Linked DNA regions of Homo sapiens: regions 2 and 3 are each linked to region 1. Evidence: promoter capture Hi-C in 16 types of primary human blood cells and fetal thymus (Javierre and others, 2016). All regions are on one chromosome and are shown on one strand. Each heading gives the region's core, a stretch centred on a gene start or on the middle of the fragment in contact. The rest is flanking DNA. Distances are from core to core; before and after follow the strand shown. Region 1 holds the start of MACC1 (MET transcriptional regulator MACC1). Region 2 overlaps HDAC9 (histone deacetylase 9). Region 3 has its middle 76 kb from the start of SP4.

The links. Contacts are between HindIII fragments. The CHiCAGO score rates a contact against its expected background, and 5 or more counts as called.
Region 2: a fragment that was not itself captured here is called in contact with the fragment with the promoter of MACC1 in region 1 in 1 of 17 cell types (total B cells); the score reaches 6.2 in total B cells.
Region 3: a fragment that was not itself captured here is called in contact with the fragment with the promoter of MACC1 in region 1 in 1 of 17 cell types (total B cells); the score reaches 6.1 in total B cells.

The regions. Positions count from the first base shown.
Region 1 is chr7:20,215,947-20,219,165 of GRCh38, reverse strand. It overlaps MACC1 (MET transcriptional regulator MACC1), which reads left to right and starts at 1,782. Exons shown (of 7, transcript NM_182762.4): 1 at 1,782-1,867. It overlaps GIRGL (glutamine insufficiency regulator of glutaminase lncRNA), which reads right to left and starts at 1,589. Exons shown (of 4, transcript NR_134569.1): 1 at 1,544-1,589; 2 at 803-910. RefSeq lists an enhancer at 758-1,957. The HindIII fragment of the contact is 5,395 bases long and covers 1-1,848 here.
Region 2 is chr7:18,519,737-18,522,955 of GRCh38, reverse strand. The region is part of intron 2 of HDAC9 (histone deacetylase 9); the gene reads right to left. Among named protein-coding and RNA genes, the nearest start is that of HDAC9, 26 kb to the right of the region's middle. RefSeq lists a silencer at 710-789. The HindIII fragment of the contact is 541 bases long and covers 1,436-1,976 here.
Region 3 is chr7:21,350,632-21,353,850 of GRCh38, reverse strand. No RefSeq gene overlaps it. Among named protein-coding and RNA genes, the nearest start is that of SP4, 76 kb to the left of the region's middle. RefSeq lists an enhancer at 560-769. The HindIII fragment of the contact is 1,651 bases long and covers 791-2,441 here.

The DNA of each region.
Region 1 (3,219 bases), core at 533-3,032:
TAAAGGCTGTGGGAGCCACACCAGACCAGACTGCAGGGGGATTCTGATAACAGTACTCATGCATGGCATTTAGGTAGCTTTTTAAATGTAAATGTTTTCCGGGAGACATAAAGATGGCATTAGGCATTAACACACACACACCTTAGAGTTAACATCTCAGTTATTTTATGTGTTGATTGTTTATCACAAACATCTACTTGTACATTAATGAGTTAATGAAGTAGGGATACAATGAGGCCTTGCCTTCAAATAGGAATGTAAGACTGCATAGGTACACACACACCCATGTAAACCAATGAAATGAGATATACAATGTGTTATGAGAGGAGCAGATGCAATATTATGAAATTGATTAGGAGGAAGAGAATAACTCAGATTAAGACAAACTGAGAAGGACATCTTGAAGAGTGTTTTTCATTGAGCTTTGGAAAAAATGAAATCTCTGAACATTTCAAGATGAGCAAAAATGGTTTCAGGGAGGAGAAATGCCATGCAGAATGCCCTCTGTAGGGTTTGGGGAAATTAAGAACCATTTGTTTTGGAAATAATATAATGACATAAAGGAAAGCTAGGTTCTAGTAGAGAGTTGAGGAACCTGTGACAAAAAGAAACAGAACAGCTCAGTTTGGATTGTGGGATGAGTCAAGGGGAAACTTCAAAGGGAATCTGGGTGGATTAGGTGATCTGGCAGCATGAAGCCAGGGATGCATCAGGGAGGAAGGGGTGGTTAGAACAGTAGGAGAGAAAGTGCAGAAAAGGGAAAGGAAACTTTTTCTTTGTCACCATTCTGCCATCTACTTACATTAGATGAATCCTTCTATTATGTTTCTGAACCCAGACCCAGCCAGGACTTGTCTCTATTCATTTTCTGGGCTGTGTCTAACAGGAGATAATAGGCTAGAGAGAGATGCTGTATGAACAAATAGAGAAACACATTTGTTTTAAACATTCTCTGTTGCTGATGTTGGAAAAAAATGTGAAACAATTATTGCACATTTCATTTCACTAAGTTTTACCTTTTTTCCCCTTTCCCCTAATTTTCTCTTTCTTGAATTTTGAACAAAATACACAGAAGGAAAACACAAAACACAGAAATGGAAAGTAAAATGGAAGAAAATATCAAGAAAACTTTATTCTTGCTTATATTTTAAAAGGCACATTTTAAAGTGTTATCTTAAAAATCCAGAGCATTTTAGAAGATGAAATGCCAAAAGGTCTCCATTATGTCTATATGTCTATGTCTTTGAGTGACAATCACAGTGCTGATGTAGAGGGAAAGGGGGAACTAGTTAGACACTGTCACTCACCTGGGAAGGCTTTATTCACCTGTTCCACAGGGCAGTGAGGCACCTTCAGCTCTGAATCACCGAAAGAGAATCTGGTGGGGCAAGTTCCAGCTGCATGAGGATTTGCTTGCATAAATATTTTTTACTTATTGCTAACACTGAGGGTGCCTTCTTACTCCCTGGCAAACATTAAACCACTTTTATTTCCTTTCATGGAAATAAGATTATATTTACAGATGGTTCTTAGATATACTCACCTGATTTTTTTTTAATTGCTTTTCCACCTGCTTCCCCTTTCTTCTTAGGGTGAAACTCTAGCCATACGCCCTCTTCTGGTTTCGGGTGAGGAGCCTGAATTGTGGGTATCGTAGTTCTCTTGCCTTTTGGGGTTTCTAGTTGGGCAGCTTTGGAGCCACAGTGGTAGAACTTCAAGTCCCAGGTGGCTCAGGAAGCAGGGGTGCAGTTGCCTGCCTGCATACGGAGCAAGGCATGTTTGAAGAGTACCCGGGTTTGGTAGAGTGACTTCTATTCACTAAAACCATGTGTCTGAACTGAAGAAGCTTGGGCTCACTTCCACAAATGTAAGTGCTGATTTTTTAAAAATAATATTCCTTTCACTATTGATATGTGCTACACACTAGGAAGTTGTATAATTTCCAGAAAAATGTAACAAACCAGCTGCTTAACAAATCAAGCCCTGCTTAAATAAAGGGAAGGTAACTGGTATTCTGTGGGCTTATGGGACATGTGTTAGAATAAACCTCATGACATAGAATAGAATAATACCTTGAGACATGGTTTAGAATAAAGTAGTTTATTTTAAAAAAAAGGAGGAACCCAGGTCACATTAACCATCAAAGGCAAAAACAAAACACTCTATGAGTTGCTTAAAATATGTAGATGGCTGAAATCCCCTAAAAACTTTAAATATCTCAAAAAGCATACAGGTATGTTAAAAAGACTGTGCTTTGAAGATAGATAAAGTTGCAATCAGCAGCCCCACTGCTTATTAGATTTATGACCATTGACAAGATGTTTCACCTCGCAAAGTCTCAGTTTCCTCATCTGTAAAGTGTGTGTGCATAACCTACCTCATTAGGTTAATAGCATTAAATTATGAATAAAAGATAATCATGTAATTAAGTTAAGGGGGTCATTAAATTAGCACAGTGCATTGTACTGAATAGACAGATGATACATGATGGAGGGTAACTTGGCTTCATCCTAATTAAGTTTCAATTAAGCTTGGAAAACACACCAAAGAAACAAAAAGACAAATACTGGATGATTCAACTTACCTGAGGTATCTGGAGTAGTCAAACTCACATAAATGATACTTAGAATGGTAGTTGCCAGGGGCTTGGGGGAAGGAGAAATGAGAGTTGTTTAATGGATATAGAGTTTCAGTTTACAAGATGAAAACACTTGGAGACTGTACAATAATGTAAATATATTTAATACTATTGAACTTAAAATTTGTAAGTGTAAACACTTACAAATGGTTAGGATGGTAAATTGTATGTTAAGTTTTTTACCACAATTAATAAAGATAGATTTTAAAAAATTTATTTTTAAGATCAAAAAGCATGTAGTGAAAATTCCAATGCCTTCCATTTATTAAAGGTCTTCCTAATTTCCTAAAAATGTCTTAAGTCTATATTCAGTGGGTCTAATTTAGGATTGATATTGACTTATCTATGTTAATGTCTGGTTTTTACATAGCAATTACTGGGTGATAATGATGAATTTCAGGTATATTCTTAAAGTTGTCTTAACCTCAGTGGTGATTCTTTTATGCCCCCCTGAACTTAATTACATGATTATCTTTTATTCATAATAGCGATTTTTAATATGATTTCATGGGTAGTGTACAGAATCTAGAAATTATGAAGTCATAATTATTAGTTACAATTTGCTTAAAAGCTTTAGTTAT
Region 2 (3,219 bases), core at 457-2,956, 1.7 Mb after region 1:
TTGGAAGCAAGACACTACATCATTTACTTTGGCCTAAATACAGTGGACATCCATAAATGCTTGTTAATTAAAGTTATTCAGCCTCTTTGAGCTCAGTTTCCTCACTTGTTAAATGATTTTTACCACCTACAAAGAGGATTCCTGGGAGAAACAAATAAAACATTATACATTGAAAATTCATAGCACTTAATGGTCACTGAATGTTATTAATCCTTCTTAAGACATATCATGGGCTCCATTTCAATTACCTCACCTACAGCGCTTAAATAAAAAATAGACAGGACAAGAAATAAGAGAGGCATGTTTGGTTTGTTTGCTCATTAGATGTTTTTTTTTTTGTTTTTTGTTTTTTGTTTTTTTTAAAAAAACCACCCTGCTTTTTTTTTTTCAGTATTAACAATTGAGCTTTATGATGTAGAAGCTAAGATACTCTGTCATGTCCAGTTATATGCTTGGAAAGAAACTGGACTGGAATTCATGATTAATCCTCAGGATTGAGACAAGAAATGAAAATGTGGCCAGACAGCTAGGGGTGCACTCTTAGCATATTGTTGGGAGGCCCTGGCTCCTTAAGAGTTTCCCAGCACGGAGCTTTAGTCCTCTCCATCCCTGTCCTTTCTTTGTTAAAACGTCTATCCCCACATCTAAAGAGCACTTACTAATCAGGTATCTTTTGGTTTAGTCTTTCAGAGTGTGTGGCTGTTAGTTCTGAATGGCCCTAAGTGCTTTTTTGTACTTAGTGGAGCCAACTTAGCCATTCACAGAGAAGCAATCTCTCTATAAATGAACAGATTTTCACACGTGGGCTGTAATATATGCATAACACATTTCTCGCGGTGTTAATTTTGGTCTAACATCCTCCTGTTGGTCTTGATTACCTTGGAGACTTACATCCTGTCTTCTGTATATATGTAGTTGTTAGTCACTTCTACTAAGTTGTCTCACCACCATTTCTCAAGAATGATAACAGAAGACACAATATTTCAATAACTGATTTTTCCTTTCAACAAATGTTCATTCAACCTCCTGTTTCCAGACATCGTACTAAGGCTTAGTCAAATCTAAACCTCGTGTAAAACTCTAAAATGCTGTAAAGGTCCAGCTAACTTTGTAGTAAAAATAAATGGAATCATTTCAGAATATTAATTGAATGTTTTTTTAAAAACAATACTAAGTAAAATGTAAATCTGAATATAGGTTCACTTCAAATTTATTATCGTTTTTCTAAAAACTGGAAATCCTAGACTGTTGTTTATTATTAGTCATATTATTGATATGGCTGCAAGTCAAACATAATCTGAATTGAACGTATCTTGAGAAAACAACAGCATACGAATAAATATGGTGAGACAGTATGGTGATAAATGCCATTTGGGATAGCATATTAATGGTGAAAAAATAGATAGCAATTTTTTAATTGGGAGTATTAGAAGCTTTATCCATTTTGCTTATTTTATTCATGGTGTGCAAATCAAATAGATGGACGACTGGACACAAATTCTGTGTAAATGATCTATATTGTGACAAATCGCAAGGCATCTGGTTAAGTGAGATATCTCCCTTGGGAAATAAAACGAAACAAGAAGTGTTTTTCTTCTTAAAAATCTGTACCCTGGTAGATAGGATCCAACATAAAATTAAACATCTCATCTAACTTTTCCAATGCCATGTTTCCAAAAGGAAATTACATTAAATTTGTCCATTCAAAATGCAAAAAGCAAGACATCCAAGAATGAGGTTTGTAGCAGAATGTAATTTTAAAGACATGATTTTTCTCCATTACTGGAGATATCAAACATTTTAAAAGCCTGTTCTTTCCTAATTGGATTCCAGATCATTATTTTTTTGGCCAAAAAAGAAAGGTTTTCTGCATTCTTAAAATAATTAGGCAAGATTTCAAATCAAATTATCCAATTTCAAACCTCTATTTTTCTCTCTAAAACGCCTGTTAGAGGAGGACTGCCGATGACTAAGCTTTGTGTCATTCTCATGGCTTTATTAGGAGAATGTTCTAAGTCCTTCACTTTCTATGTAATCAGAACTATAATTTCTTCAGGTTATTTTAAGACCCAGCTATGGCTAAAGCAGGAAACTCAATTTTATTCTGAGCTGTAGACATGTCGACACAGCAGAGCAGGGCTCCAGCTTTCTGGGCTATCTTCTTTCATAAACCCTCTTGCTTGGTGTCAGACCAAGGCTCTAGGCTAGTTGTACTTACTCTCTGGGTGTCAGGTAACTGTTTCCAAGACATTTACGGTAGTAGGACTGTTATTTTGGAAAATATGTGTTGACATATTATTATTCTACAAATGAACAGCTTACTTGTCCAGAGAGCACCACTCTTCATTACATCAATTCGAAAATCATATTCAACAGAAGGGCAGTTGAGAAAACCCAGGTGCCAGAAACATTTGATAAAAAAGCAGAACAGAAAGCTCATATGTCTACATGGTTCATCATACTCCCTTAGAATTTTATAACTTAATTAACCAACTCCATTTAGGCTTGCTTAGTTGCCTCTAATTATTCAGAAAAATTTTCTGTGTTGCAAAGTAATATTAATAGTGAGTGACATTTCTGCAAGTAACAGGTAACCTATTTCTTCTATAGTTGTGATATATAACTAAGTAAAGAAAGGAGAATAGGACAGTATAATAAAATAGAAAAAGTTACCTGCAAGAGGTGGTCTTCAGAATGAAAAGAAAAATATAGCATGATTACTTTAATATTTTGATGTATATCACGAAGTTTCTCACAGATACGTAAATTAATCTTATTCCTGAAGTAAACTTATTAATACTTTTAATTATTAATAAACATACTGATATAAAAACACTTTATTGAACTGTGATTTTCATGCTAGCATTTTTTTTCTTTGGGTTAAAATACTTTTACTACTTTTCTGCTCCTACTACAACAATAAAATAATGGAAACAAGTACCATGAATCCATTAGTTGAGCTTACTATGCTATATGTACTGTATACCATTCTACATTTTTTTGCATTCATTAATATATTGAGCTCATCCTTCTATGTTAATATCTTCAGACATTACTTAATAACTTTAATGACTTGTATTTCAGAGTATGGATTATGTATTGACTTATAGTTAGATTGCCCTCAGTTTTCCATTATTATAAATAAAACTGCTGATAAATATCCTGGTACATAAATTATTGTGAATTTGTGCAAGTATTTCTGTATACCAATTAAGTGGA
Region 3 (3,219 bases), core at 367-2,866, 1.1 Mb before region 1:
GGAAATTTTTCCAAAGAAATCTAGAATATTCTTCACCTTCTTCAGAAATTCAGATGGTTAATGCTTTTAAAATTTTTAGTATTCCAATTATTCAATTGTGTAAAGTAAGTATTTGTTTAGTGTCCTGTCAGCACAGATTGTAACTTGAATGAACAGAAATCTTGAATGTGGTTTTATTTTGATTAAGAACAACACTTATCTTCGATGTCTTAGGCACCCGTATAGTCAAGAATAGCCTGCTGGTAAAAGTCCCTGAGGGCAGTTAGTCAAGGAGGATTGGACATTAATATCTTTGGATTTTGAAGGAACTTATTGGAAGTAATTTCAATAAGTTCAATAATTGAACTCGTATGCCTCATTCTACTCTAAGAAAAGAAAAATGAGTCGATCCTTTGCATGATCACTTATCTGGATTTTAAATAGATGCACAAGCTTCTGATACCTAAAGTGTCACTTGTATCCTCATGTAAATAGCAGGATAATTTCCTTGACAGAAAATAGCTTCCTCATCCATGCATTACTGTCCTCATGATTTCAGCATTAGAGATTCATTTCTTTAGATTAAACATTGATCTTGACCCTTGTGAAATGCAGCTATGTTACCAGAAGGAGTAAGCTGTAAGTTCATTAACCTTTAAACATTAATGAAACATATCAGATGATTTTTCTCTCCCTTGCACAAGAGCAGTGAGAATCTGGTCATATGGGGGAACACTAAAGAGGAACTAACATCAAAGTCAAATTTACTTTCTTAGAAATTCTGTGTAGCTCAAGCCCTGTCTGGAAAGCTTATAACTGAGTTCCAGTTTCGATTTCACTGGACTGATCTGCTGCATGCTCAAAGGTATATTCAAATGTCAAGGCAAGGACAGTTGCTATAGAGCTTAGTTCCTTCTTTCATTTGATTAGACACATAAAGGGGTCATGTTCATCAACATGTTTATTTTTTTTAAATGACAGAATGACAACCTCAACAAGCTGAAGAAAAATTGGGATATCCTCGGGCATGTAACTGAAGGGTACAGAAGAGCTGCTGACTTCCAACAGAGATGGGGGTTCTTGTGCCACATGTCATTATCGAAAGCCTCAGCCTCTCTGTTCTGCTTTCTTGTTTCCTCTCTTTTTCTCTGTCTTGTCTTTTTCTCTGTCTTGTTTCCTCTCTGTCTTTTGCTCTGACTCCTTTCTCCTCCCCAGCCATCCAATCTTCTCTCTCTACATGTCTCCGCTCTGCTTTTCCCTATGTTGCCTTTATTCTCTGAAAATGTCTTTCCTCTGGTAAAATACATGGTACCCTACACTGCTCCAGGGATACATTGTTAGTGCCATAGCCTACAGTTGGTTAGAGAAAGGGTACAGCACAAGTCCAGAGGATGAGCCTGATTGGCCGAAGTTGGCTGACTTTCCCATCCCTGCAATCCTTCTAAATAGGAAGATATGTTCCCTGTTTCCCATAGAGGCGAGGGCTTCTTTTACCAGAAGAGGTGAAAGGAAAAGGCTTTATGCAGATGAATCCATGACTTCCACAGTCTATTTCAGGGTTCTAGTTGGATTGGTGGGTTTAATGAACACTGTACTTCATTGCTTCACAGTGGATGGCAACATTTCTATTTCACATTGATGTTACATTTTTTGAAAATTTGTATAGCAGAGGTGGAAGAGGAGAAAGAGGTGGAGGGGAAGAAAGCAACGCTATAATTCTATTTATTGTCTATTCGAAGAATACAACAGCTGAATCATTGTCCTTCAAATTATTATTTTTTTAAAGAAAAAGCCCTTTTCAAAACTAGAAATGTGTTATTTTTGATAAAGTTGGAGATCCAAATTCCAATTTTACTGCTGCATTATCAGAGTTAAAAGGTAGTCACATCTGGTTAAGGATTGAGTGCCGAAATAAAATTTGTAAAACAAAATGAAAAGTTCTAGGCTTGGTTTGACTCCAACTCTTTAAGAGATCTTTGTTGCTTAATCATTATCTATTTATTTAATTAATTAATTAATTTATTTATTTATTTTTGAGACGGAGTCTCACTTTTTCGCTCAGGCTGGAGTGCCGTGGTGCAATCTCAGCTCACAACAACCTCTGCCCGGGGGTTCAAGCAATTCTCCTGCCTCAGGCTCCCAAGTAGCTGGGATTACAGTTGCGCACCATCACGCCTGGCTAATTTTTAGCCACCATACCCAGCTAATTTTTGTATTTTTTGTAGAGACGGGGTTTTGCCATGTTTCCCAGGCTGGTGTCAAACTCCCGGCCTCAAGTGATCTGCCAGCCTTGACCTCCCAAAGTGCTGGGATTACAGGCGTGAGCCACTGTGCCTGGCCTCATTTTTTAAAATGAAAAAAAAAAAAAAATATATATATATATATATACATACATATATATATAAGTATTAGCGACCATTTATGACACTAATGATGGTCAAAGACCTCTACACATACAAGCTTCGCATTATAAAGTTTCTAATGCAGAAAAATGTGGATTCTAGTCATCTTTTCTCACTTGGATGCATTTCTTGAGGACTTGCTGAGTAATGTATTTGGTACACTCTTGGTGTTGGCTACAAACAGGTAAGGAGAGAGACGGCATGACCATTCCCACAAAGTCAGTGAAATAAAAGACAGTCTTCCCAGGGACGACACAGTAGAGCCCCTCCCACTACTTTCTTACTTGTTATTATTGTTTATTTTTTTCAGGAAGCCCCAGTTGTCAGGCGTGGTGGCTCATGCCTGTAATTCCGGCACTTTGGGAGGCTGAGGCAAGCAGATAGCTTGAGCTCAGGAGTTCAAGACCAGCCTAGGAAACATGGCAAAACTCCATCTGTACAAAAAATACAAAAATTAGCTGGGTATGGTGGTGCAAGCCTGTAGCTACTTAGGAGGAGGCTGAGGTGGGAGGATCACCTGACCCTGGGGAGGTCGAGGCTACAGTGAGCAGTGTTCATGCCACTGCACTCCAGCCTGGGCATGAATGAGGTCCTGTTTCAGAAAACAAAAAACAAAAGAAAAACCCAGAAGCCTCAGCCCCAGTCAAAAAACTTTTAAAGTCCAATAGACATAAAATTACTGCTAAAACAATTTCTAAACGTTTGGTCTCACGTACTTTGGGTAGTACTGACAAAGATCATTGCTGTCTGTCATGCCAGACCCTTACACTGACTACAATAGGGATGATACTGTGTCTGAGAGGCTGAAGAAGAGACCCAGAGATAGTGAATGAGACAT